Regions from separate parts of the Homo sapiens genome. Here regions 1, 2 and 4 are each linked to region 3. Evidence: promoter capture Hi-C in 16 types of primary human blood cells and fetal thymus (Javierre and others, 2016). All regions are on one chromosome and are shown on one strand. Each heading gives the region's core, a stretch centred on a gene start or on the middle of the fragment in contact. The rest is flanking DNA. Distances are from core to core; before and after follow the strand shown. Region 1 holds the start of PLXNB3 (plexin B3). Region 2 overlaps MECP2 (methyl-CpG binding protein 2). Region 3 holds the start of G6PD (glucose-6-phosphate dehydrogenase). Region 4 overlaps ARHGAP4 (Rho GTPase activating protein 4).

Region 1 (2,700 bases), core at 108-2,607, 780 kb before region 3:
AAGGCTGCCTGGCCTTCCTGTTGGGGAGAGACCCCTCGCCGGCTGCTCACTCGCTTTTTGGTGGTCCTTCCCACGGGCCTGCCTGGTCTGCCTCCACATCCTCAGCGGCTGCAGGTGAGAAGCTGTGGATCTGGGGCCCAGTGGTCCAGAGCGTGGCCCGTGCCAGAATGCCCAGGTTCAAATCCCATCTCTGTGGAATGCACTCTGAAGAAACGACGTCAGGTCATGGCCCTGGGCAAGTTACCCACCTCTGTGCCCCATTTCTCTCCATGCAGGTTGGAAAGAATGACACAGCTGCTCAGGGAAGCACCCATACCCCGAGTCTGCTGGGCCTTTGAGCTCCAGGGCCAACACCTGGCCCTATACCCTGGCCGCCCCCAGGGCTCCAGCCACCTGAGCCAAGCTTCTCACCCCCAGGCCTCCCCAGCCCCATCACCATTTCCTCCTCCCTCATGGGCCCCTCAGTCTTACCGTCCTCCCACTTCCGCCAGCCCCTCTGTGGATGGCCCTGCCACAGGGGGAACAGTGCCCCAGCAGAAAAGCCCCAGGGTCGCCTGGATTCTCCTGCCTTCGCCTCCTGCCCTGGGTCCAACGCACAGTCTTCAGAATGCTGCCTCCCCAGAGCGCCTCTAGAACGCGCCCGCCTCTCTCCATGCCCATGACCACCACTGGACCAGGCCTCCCCACATTCTCTGCCCCAGTGCCACCAGCTTGCAGTTGCCCATGGCGAGACAAGTTCAAGTTCTCAAGCCTGGCCACAAAGACCCCACCTGATTTGCTGACCTCCGCCACACCCTGGGAGACGGCCCTTGACCAACCTTGTGTTCCAGTCGGTGGGAAACACTGGTTTTTCCTCAACGCCACGTGGGCATGTCACGTCCAGGCCTGGCCTGGGGTAGGCCTCAGCTCCATCTCCTGCCCAACGCCTGCCAAGGTTCATGGTTCAAGGTCATGTAGCCTGACGGTTAAGTGAAGGGGCCCTGTGATTGACTCAGCCTTGCCACATACTAGCTGTGTGACTTTATTCAAGTTTCCTAACCTCCTGTGCCTCAGTTTCCCAACCTGTGTTTGTTTCTGGATGGTGCCAGTGCCAAGCCCAAGCCTGGCATCCAGTAGGTGCTTCGTGCCAGGTTATGGAATGCCCACCCAATAGGAGGGCGCTGCCGTCTCTCACCTGCCAGGTGCCCACGGTCAGTACTCCATCATGCCCGCTGCGGCCAGCAGAGGGCAGCAACATCCTGCCCTGTGCCATTGGGCAAAGGGGCGGGCGGAGAGAGGCTGGGCTGCCTGGCCGGGCTTGTTGGGATGAGTCGGACTGGGCACGATTGCATTGTGGGGAGGGAGGCTGGGGCTCTGTGAGACGTGCTCCTGGCACCGCCAGCTGCTACTTGGCCCTCGCCGGTGGCCCACCAGGTAGGCAAGAGCTGGGGCAGGCTTGGGCTTGGGCTTGGGGTGCAGGGGCTACCAGCCTCAGGGCAAGGCATCAGGGTCTCAGGGCCAACTGGCTGGGGTCAGGCAAGAGCGCTCGGGTGTCGGCCCAGCCTGACGACGGCACTAGGTGTCTGGGAGCACGGTGTCCCCCAAGTGGTAGCCCTGGGGTTAGGAGGTGGGGAACCATGTTTCTTCCCCGAAATGGGAAAGCCAACGCCAGCCTCGGGCAGGGTACAGGGTAGAGAGGCTGCCCGCCTGGCTCCCCACCCCCACAGCCACCCAACTGGCCCAGCCAGGTGACAGCAGCCCACTGCCACCTTGCCCTGGAGCCTACTGCTGCCGTGCTGTGGGGGAGGCAGAGACCCCATCCCCAGTGCACCTGCTCCTGTGCCACTGGCCAGGGTGGCCTGTGAGGGTGACAGGGGGTCTAGCTGCTAGGTGCCCCTCCCTTCCCCATCCCCTGCATGGATGGCATCTAGGCCAGCAGGACGGTGCTTCAGAGGGTGGGGTGGACAGCCCCGGCCTGTGGACCCTCTGCCTCAGCCCATCTCAAGCAGCCTCCTCCCGTGGTCCTGCTCGCTGCCACCATGCTGTACCTGGCACCACTTCACCAGTCCCCAGGGGCAGGGCTGGGCTGGGGGTGTGGAGGAAGATCTTTTGGACAAAGGCAGGCATTGAGGGCCAGGACTGGCACTTCACCCAGGCCCCAAGGCTACCAGCCGGCATTTGCAGGGGCTCCAAGGTCCACCCCGTGCCCTTCACAGGGACCCGGGGAGCCAGGGAGGGGCATGCTTAGTGACACAGGGGTTGCAGGGCCAGAGGGGGAGGGCTGGCTGGAGGAAACCCCGGCCCTTTGTCCCCGGATCCCGGGGGTGGCTCCCTGAGGGTGGGAAGTGGCAAGGAGCCCCCTGTCCAGAACAGCCCAGTGGGGGTGACAGCACTAGCGAGTGGGGCCCTGGCCTGGCCTCTGGACAGAGGGAACATTGTTGTGGTGGAGGCAGGGCTGCCTTGGCCTGGCCACTATTGACAAAGCTGCCAGCTGTGAGGGAGCCCGGTCGCTAGGCCCTGGGCGCCACCCCCACCGCCGCCCCTCCTTCCCCAGGCCAGCTCGAATGGGGCTGAGCCTCGACTGTCTCCCTCCCACTCAGGACAATGCCCCCCCGCAGCCATCTCATGCCCATCGCCACTGCCCTGGGGCAGCTGAACTGAGCGTATGTGCCACGCCGCCCAGGAGACCCCTCTGCTGCACCACTTCATGGTAAGTGCCCA
Region 2 (2,700 bases), core at 201-2,700, 520 kb before region 3:
GATCGCACAGGCCATAGCCACTGGTCATATCCATCTTCTCTAAAGAATCCAACTGTCTCTCCTGCCTCACACCTCCCTGTCCCAACGTGGTTGGGAGTGGGGGAGGTGGGGGGAGCTGGGGGAGCTGTAGACGGGGCACTGATGGCACCGAAAACGGGAGTGTCCTCTCAACTGCTCTGTCGCTCTGTCTCTAACGACCACATGGGGGAAAGGTTTGGGCGGGAGGGGAGGTGCCTGGTCAACAGCTTGTCTGGTCAGTAGTATCTGCAGCAAGCCTTGTTGAAGGAGCCTAGTTTAGAAAAGTGCAAAGCTACTTCTGGCCCTGGTTAGGTCTTCAACCTGACTGTGCTTGTCGGTAAGAAAAACATCCCCAATGCTCCAACTACTCCCACCCTGAAGCCACGAAACTCTAAGTTTACTGAAAGAAAAAAAAATATTTTTTATTTCAGTTAATCGGGAAGCTTTGTCAGAGCCCTACCCATAAGGAGAAGAGACAACAGCTGCCTTTATTCTTGTTGGTTTGCTTTGCAATCCGCTCCGTGTAAAGTCAGCTAACTCTCTCGGTCACGGGCGTCCGGCTGTCCACAGGCTCCTCTCTGTTTGGCCTTGGCATGGAGGATGAAACAATGTCTTTGCGCTCTCCCTCCCCTCGGTGTTTGTACTTTTCTGCGGCCGTGGCGGCGGTGGCAACCGCGGGCTGAGTCTTAGCTGGCTCCTTGGGGCAGCCGTCGCTCTCCAGTGAGCCTCCTCTGGGCATCTTCTCCTCTTTGCAGACGCTGCTGCTCAAGTCCTGGGGCTCAGGGGGGCTGGTGGGGTCCTCGGAGCTCTCGGGCTCAGGTGGAGGTGGGGGCAGGGGTGGGAGCAGTGGCACGGGGGCCTTTGGGGACTCTGAGTGGTGGTGATGGTGGTGGTGCTCCTTCTTGGGGGGTGAGGAGGCGCTGCTGCTGCGCCCCTTGGGGCTGCTCTCCTTGCTTTTCCGCCCAGGGCTCTTACAGGTCTTCAGTCCTTTCCCGCTCTTCTCACCGAGGGTGGACACCAGCAGGGGCTTCACCACTTCCTTGACCTCGATGCTGACCGTCTCCCGGGTCTTGCGCTTCTTGATGGGGAGTACGGTCTCCTGCACAGATCGGATAGAAGACTCCTTCACGGCTTTCTTTTTGGCCTCGGCGGCAGCGGCTGCCACCACACTCCCCGGCTTTCGGCCCCGTTTCTTGGGAATGGCCTGAGGGTCGGCCTCAGCTTTTCGCTTCCTGCCGGGGCGTTTGATCACCATGACCTGGGTGGATGTGGTGGCCCCACCCCCCTCAGCCTTGCCCCCTGGCGAAGTTTGAAAAGGCATCTTGACAAGGAGCTTCCCAGGACTTTTCTCCAGGACCCTTTTCACCTGCACACCCTCTGACGTGGCCGCCTTGGGTCTCGTGGTGCCGCTCCCTTTGGGGCGTCCCCGGCCTCTGCCAGTTCCTGGAGCTTTGGGAGATTTGGGCTTCTTAGGTGGTTTCTGCTCTCGCCGGGAGGGGCTCCCTCTCCCAGTTACCGTGAAGTCAAAATCATTAGGGTCCAGGGATGTGTCGCCTACCTTTTCGAAGTACGCAATCAACTCCACTTTAGAGCGAAAGGCTTTTCCCTGGGGACTGTGGGGACAAACAGAAAGACACAAGGAACAATTAGAGGCTCTCCATAGCAATGTCAGAGATAGGGCAGAGCGGATGGTGGTGACAACGCTCTGACAAACGTTACTATTGAACGAGAGTCACACTGCCTGGCTGCCCCTGAGGACCTGTCACCAAAGCCACTCACTCGTCTGCCTGCCGCTGACCCCCCCAGGCCTCTCCAAAGTTCAGCAACCAAAGAGTCAGGCCTGGTACAGAAGGGTTGTCAGGCTGAGGCCCATTCTGCTGGTTGGTGCCTGGGCCTGAGTCACCATCTAGAACATTCCCAAGTTTGAACTCAGGTACGGTGCTCAGTCTCTCCAGGAATCAGTTTCAACAAGATAATCCTTTGCTCACCCTTCTCATGGAATTAAATGAGGCTGTCTGCAAATGTCATTTGAAAACTGCTAACCTTTTTGGGATCATTTAAAAGGCAGAACTGAAACATGCTTCTTCACCCCTCTGAACCCCTAGCTCTGCAAGTTCCTCTGCTTCCGCAGCTATTCCATCCCCAGATAAAGACTTGAGGTGTGGAGAGGATAGAGGGCCTGCTACCTTGAGAACTTCCCACTCAGGGCAGCGACCTCTGTACACGGTCATTTCAAGCACACCTGGTCTCAGTGTTCATTGTTTATGTTCCCCCCGACCCCACCCTGGGCACATACATTTTCCTGCTCCATGAGGGATCCTTGTCCCTGCCCTCCCTGCCCTGTAGAGATAGGAGTTGCTCTTACTTACTTGATCAAATACACATCATACTTCCCAGCAGAGCGGCCAGATTTCCTTTGCTTAAGCTTCCGTGTCCAGCCTTCAGGCAGGGTGGGGTCATCATACATGGGTCCCCGGTCACGGATGATGGAGCGCCGCTGTTTGGGGGAGGCAGAAGCTTCCGGCACAGCCGGGGCGGAGCCTGACCCTTCTGATGTCTCTGCTTTGCCTGCCTCTGCGGGCTCAGCAGAGTGGTGGGCTGATGGCTGCACGGGCTCATGCTTGCCCTCTTTCTCTTCTTTCTTATCTTTCTTCACCTTTTTAAACTTGAGGGGTTTGTCCT
Region 3 (2,700 bases), core at 201-2,700:
CATTTGTTAAGGCATGAACAGGTCTGAAAAAACTACAGAATGAATAGCATTCCCTGTTTTCCCCAAGAAGTCCATCTAGACAGTCCCTAAAGAGCCTGCAACTCCAGGATTAAGGGCTACATTCAGCGGCTAGGCACAGGGTTCAGAAACGTCCTGCAGCCGGGCGTGGTGGCTCATGCCTGTCATCCCAGCACTTTGGGAGGCCGAGGCGGGCGGATCACTTGAGGTCAGGAGTTTGAGACCAGCCTGGTCAACATGGTGAAACTCCGTCTCTACTAACAATACAAAAATTAGCCGGGTGTGGTGGTGCATGCCTGTAATCTCAGCTACTTGGGGGGCTGAGGCAGGAGAATCGCTTGAACCCAGGAGGCCGAGGTTGCAGTGAGCCAAGATGGCGCCACTGCACCCCATCCTGGGCGACCAGAGCAAAACTCCGTCTCCAAAAAAAAAAAAAAAAAAAAGTCTTGCAAGTGCATATGCACACCAGGTAGAGCCGGGATGATCCTGGCGCACTAGCAGGAGCGGGAGGAGGAGCTCAACTTAGCAGAGCCTGTGGGGCCCTGCAACAATTAGTTGGAAAAGCTGAGGCATGGAGCAGGCACTTCCTGGCTTTTAAGATTGGGGCCTGGGAGATACTCACCGATGCACCCATGATGATGAATATGTGTGTATCCGACTGATGGAAGGCATCGCCCTGGAAAAGCTCTTCCCGCAGGATCCCGCACACCTGGGTCCGGCTCAGGGCCACCTGCTCTGCCATGACGCTGTCTGGTGGAAGAAAGGCTCGTTAACAAGGCAGAAGAACAGGAGAGCATTGAGAAGTTAGCCCCTTTCTTGAGAGTTCCTCTGGGGTCTCACACCAGGGTGACACCTGATTGCCCAAATCACTCCTTGTGAACGGCTGGGCATTGGGGAGTGGTTGATGGGTTAGAAACTGCTGGCTCTGGGCTCCAGCCACTCTCTCCTAGGCAGCCTTCATTCAGGGTGTACATTACAAAATTACTCAAAGCATTGGTGTATTCCGACTACAGCATCAATTCTGGACAACCGAGTAAAATCCTTGTGGGGCATGGAACTGCGTGCCCAGGACCATCTCATTCCCGACTGTAGCGGGAACTCCACAATGACCTGGAGCATGGGAGATGGTGCAGATGCTGGAGTTCAGCTCCAGCCCTCCCCTTGCCAAGCTGGGTGACCCCGGTCGGCAAGTCCCCTTCGCTCTCGGGGTCTCAGGGGCTCAAGAGAGGAGGTGCGGGGTATAAAGGGATTGGTTAAGACCCTCTCGATTCTGCTCGGTTCTCAAGCACAACAAACAGCGTGTATTTTACCGCCGCGCGGCGCAGCGCGGGACAGTACGCTCCTCCGCCTGCGCGGCGCCCGCCCGGCCGGTTACCTGCGCTTCGTCGTCGTCGCCCTCCGCGCTCGCAGCCCCGAAGTGTACGACCGTTTCCGGGGGCTGAGCCCCGCCGGCCCATTTAATCGGCGGGGGCGGGGGCGGGCGCCTGGGCTGAGCGGACCCGCCTCAGGCGAGGCGTGCGGGGCGGGGCCTCGGCCACCACCCCTCGTGCGGGCGGGGCGGGGCGAGGGCAGGTGCGCGCGCATCCCAGGCCAGCCCCTGCCTCTCGGGCACCTGCGCTGGAGGCCGGCCCGCCGGCTGCCTGCCATACCCGCTGCCGCTGCTCTGCATCCCCAATTCCGGCGGGCACGGGTGCAGCTCCGCGTAGTGCTCCCGCATCCCCATCGCCGGCCCGGCCCCGCCCCTACTGTCCGGTTTCCCCGCCTGCCCCGGCGGCCTCGCGCGCTCGCGGAGGGCTCCACTTCCGCCGGCAGCGTGGCCACGCCTCCTCTGGGCTGTCCCTCGGCTCCTGGGCGGGGCCTTCTGCCGCGCCACTCCCCCGGGAACCCTCGCCTGTTCGCGGGTCAAGCCGGCCCTATTGGGCAGTCTCTTCTTGATTCCTCCCCCGGAGAGGGCGGGGCGGCCGAGCGCCCCGAGGCTAGACGCCGCCGTCCGAGAGACGAGGGGGCGTGTAGGCGGTGACGCCCTGCAAAGTGGCCGGCGTGCTTATCATTACCGAGCTTCCGCGGGCCTGCAGAGCCTGGCGGACTCAGACTTCTCTCCGGAGCGGGATGCGGCCCTACCGCGGCCTCACACTTCTCGCCGGCTTCCCGAGTTCTCGGGGGCGGGGCTTGTGTTTTTACTTCCGGATCCCACAGCTATGACACCGGAAGCCGGAAGCGTGGTAGGGAAGGGCGACCGCGAAACTGGGACTTTCTCGGAGCGCCGGGGCCCTACCAGCGTTCACAGTCCGCCGCTCCCACCCTTCTCACGTCTGACGGACTCTGCTGACAGGTGTGGTCCTTTTCCCCAAAGACAGGGTTCCATCCGTGGGCGTTCCGCCGCCTCCGAAACTTCCCCCGGACGTTCAGGCTCCCCCCTCTTTTTTGGGCCCCAGCCCGTTCCTGCTCCGCGCTTCTGGAGCACTGGCCAAGGCGGGCCGATTCAGGACCCAGGTTACTTGGGCGGCGAGCTGGACTGTTTCTACTCCTCCCTCCTCCTCCACTGCGGGGTCTGACCCTACTCCTTGTGTGAGGACTCCTCTAGTTCAGAGACATATTCTGTTCACCAAACTTGACTGCGCTCTATCGAGGTCGTTAAATTCTTCGGAAATGCCTCACATATAGTTTGGCAGCTAGGTATCT
Region 4 (2,700 bases), core at 1-2,500, 620 kb before region 3:
GCGCTGAGGCCAACAGATGGCCAGAGCCACCCGGTTGAGGGGGAAGGGGAAGGGTGTCCCAGAGAGAGGGGAGAGCCGCCCCAGCGCCAGCCAGGCACCTTTCAGTTTGGCTTCCTGTCTCTCCCTCGTTCCTGGAAAGCCTCTGAATGGTTTCCCCTGCGACTTCCTTTCCCGCCGGTACCCAGGCTCCGGGAGGTGGCAGCCTCCCTTGCAAACACACGGATACACAACACACAGATCACAGTGCTGCTCAGGGCAAGCCTGCAGCGATCTCGCAGTCTCAGTGGCTGGGGAAGCCTGCCCTCAGGCCCCAGGGGAAAGGACAGTCCACAGTGAGGGCTGGGAGCCAGGGAGAGCTGATCCGGCCTTGTAAGTGAAAGAATGGGGCAGGGAGCTAGCCCCCGTCTTCTGACCCCACTTCCCACTCCCAATCACCCCCCGCCCCACCTGTGCATTCCCCCACCCTGCAGAGAGAGTCACACCCAGGGCCCCATACTGCCGGCCTTTTGACACCCTATCACTGGCTTGATTTGGCAACGCTGCTTCCCCCACACAGGCCTGAAGCAAAGAAGTGCCTGTCCAGCAAGTTTAAGCAACCTGCGGAAGACACTTTTGCCATCTCCTGAGTGCCCGTCCCGAGTAAATAAGATGCTAGCTCAGCTTCTGGCCAGCAGGCTGCCCACCTACTCATCTCCATCCACATCCCCAGGGAGGGACATGAATTGATGTCTTCATTCAGCAGAATGTTGATTATGCACCCATTCTGTGGCAGGCACGTTTTAAATACAAAGGCAAAGAGGTTTGACCAAGTGTCTGCCCTCTTGGAGCTGGGATTGGAATGGGGCACGAACACATATCAGAATGCCCAGGAGTGATGGGTGCGGAGAAGATGAACCCACAAAGCAAGATCAGAGCCAGGGGTGGGTGGGGACAGGGAGGACCTCTTTTTAAAGGAGGGTGGTCAAGAACAAGCCGCATCGTTGGAGCAGAAGGCTGGAGCTGGCTGTACGTGGGCAGTAGGGGGAGTCCGAGAGACCGGTAGGGACAGATGGCACAGAGCCCGGGGTCTGGGCAGAGCTCCCAGCTGGACTCCGAGTGAGAGAGGAGCCACAGTAGTGGGGTGATGTGGTCCAGCTTCGTTTTCAGGGCCCCCTCACACTGCCAGGTGGAGCCCAGGTGGCAGCTACTGTGCTAGTCCAGGCAAAAGACGGCAGGATTCAGACCAGCAGCAGCGAGGGAGGACTCCGCTGAGAAGAGCTCAATCCCATTGGATTTCTGTCCCGCCAGTGACTTCCCAGGGGCTGTTGCATGGGGACCCTGTGGGTTCCGCCTGCCCAGCATCCCTACCTCCTCCCCTGATCTCCTATTGGAGAATGTCCCCTTCCTAGTCTCAGCCCCCTTGACTCCAGGTGCCCCAGCCCTGGCTGCATGCGTCACCCATCCCTCTGTCCCTCCACTCCCTGCCCCCACCAGACTAGCCAGGTGAGGGACCCAGGAGCCTGACCCTTCCAATTGAATTACTGAACAGGAGAGCTCTTCCCACCGGCAGATCAAGCTGGGTAAGTGGAAGCCTGGGGCACGGGACCTCCCGACAGAGCAGGGCAGAGCCCACGATGCCAAGTGAGACAGATGGAGAGTGTCTTCATCCTATCCGAGGCTGGCCTCCTGTGGTTAACTCGTCAGCTCCAAGGCCAGGTGGGGTGGGCGCTAATGCCATTTGAAATCAGGAGAGTCCTCACTGAATCAGTTTAACGTTTTGTTTTGATTTTTTGTTTTGAGACGGAGGATGTTGCCCAGGCTGGAGTACAGTGGTGCGATCTCGGCTCACTGCAACCTCCGCCTCCCGGGTTCAAGCGATTCTCCCGCCTCAGCCTCCCGAGTAGCTGGGACTACAGGGGCGCACCACCACACCCAGCTAATTTTTGTATTTTTAGTAGAGACAGGGTTTCATCATGTTGGCCAGACTGGGTCTTGAACTCCTGACCTCAGGTGATCCGCCCGCCTCGGCCTCCCAAAGTGCTGGGATTACAGACGTGAGCCACCACGCCTGGCCCAGTTTAACATTTTTTGATAAAAGTAAATTTCATTTCATTCCAAGAAAGGTGTTAGACAACTGCTCGCCTCACTGGCCCTCTGGAGCCTGCCCTGCCCTGCTTCCCCCAGAGGAATACAATCCCTGGGGACTTATGACAACTGAACAGTGCAGAAGGAACCAGCAGAGGGAACCGCTGCCTTTCTTCATCACTGCCGGCAGCAAAAGCTGACTGGAAGCCATGTCCTAGTCCAGATCCGGGCATGCACACCGGCTGGTGTTGAGCAGGCAACTTGTGAATTGCAAGTCGATTGCATTGGTGGCTTTCCTGGCAGAGCTTTCGGATCTCAGTTCAGACAAACTCGTCAGCACACCCTGTCCTGACCTCCCCCTAAACTAGGGCTGGCCCTCTTCCGACCCCTTCTTGGCACCGTGCACTTTCCTTCCCTTTGTAGTGCTTATTATCATAATGCAAAGTCTATGTCTCCCCCACTAGACCCGTGAGCCATGTGAGGGCGGGGTGGCCACTGACGCCATTTGAAATCAGGGGAGTCCTCATTGAATCATTGCTTTTACTCTGGGTAAAAAGCCAGGGCTGGAGGGGCTGGAGTCGGGGTTCTCTCTGGTACAGCAGTATACTCCCAGGGCCTGGGACAGCACAGATGTAT

Evidence for each region. The method cuts DNA at HindIII sites, captures the fragments that hold promoters and counts their contacts. A CHiCAGO score of 5 or more calls a contact.
Region 1: a contact is called between the fragment with the promoter of PLXNB3 here and the fragment with the promoter of G6PD in region 3, in 1 of 17 cell types (total CD8 T cells). The highest score is 9.6, in total CD8 T cells.
Region 2: a fragment that was not itself captured here is called in contact with the fragment with the promoter of G6PD in region 3 in 5 of 17 cell types (naive CD8 T cells, total CD4 T cells, activated CD4 T cells and 2 more); the score reaches 7.6 in naive CD8 T cells.
Region 4: a fragment that was not itself captured here is called in contact with the fragment with the promoter of G6PD in region 3 in 5 of 17 cell types (total B cells, total CD8 T cells, non-activated CD4 T cells and 2 more); the score reaches 10.1 in total B cells.

What each region holds. Positions count from the first base shown.
Region 1 is chrX:153,762,892-153,765,591 of GRCh38, forward strand. PLXNB3 (plexin B3) reads left to right here and starts at 1,358. Exons shown (of 36, transcript NM_005393.3): 1 at 1,358-1,413; 2 at 2,580-2,689. The coding sequence starts at 2,645. PLXNB3-AS1 (PLXNB3 antisense RNA 1) reads right to left here. Exons shown (of 3, transcript NR_199696.1): 2 at 819-958. The HindIII fragment of the contact is 7,823 bases long and covers 402-2,700 here.
Region 2 is chrX:154,029,820-154,032,519 of GRCh38, forward strand. MECP2 (methyl-CpG binding protein 2) reads right to left here. Exons shown (of 3, transcript NM_001110792.2): 2 at 2,388-2,700; 3 at 1-1,631. The coding sequence ends at 548. Among named protein-coding and RNA genes, the nearest start is that of MIR718, 11 kb to the left of the region's middle. RefSeq lists an enhancer at 2,619-2,700. The HindIII fragment of the contact is 1,982 bases long and covers 460-2,441 here.
Region 3 is chrX:154,545,396-154,548,095 of GRCh38, forward strand. G6PD (glucose-6-phosphate dehydrogenase) reads right to left here and starts at 1,451. Exons shown (of 13, transcript NM_001360016.2): 1 at 1,394-1,451; 2 at 641-768. The coding sequence starts at 760. It overlaps IKBKG (inhibitor of nuclear factor kappa B kinase regulatory subunit gamma), which reads left to right and starts at 2,225. Exons shown (of 10, transcript NM_001099857.5): 1 at 2,225-2,350. RefSeq lists enhancers at 487-1,030, 2,333-2,612 and a silencer at 1,333-1,892. The HindIII fragment of the contact is 7,888 bases long and covers 1-2,700 here.
Region 4 is chrX:153,922,026-153,924,725 of GRCh38, forward strand. All of the region lies in intron 1 of ARHGAP4 (Rho GTPase activating protein 4), which reads right to left. Among named protein-coding and RNA genes, the nearest start is that of ARHGAP4, 2.9 kb to the right of the region's middle. RefSeq lists enhancers at 1,399-1,899, 2,406-2,535. The HindIII fragment of the contact is 3,334 bases long and covers 1-2,700 here.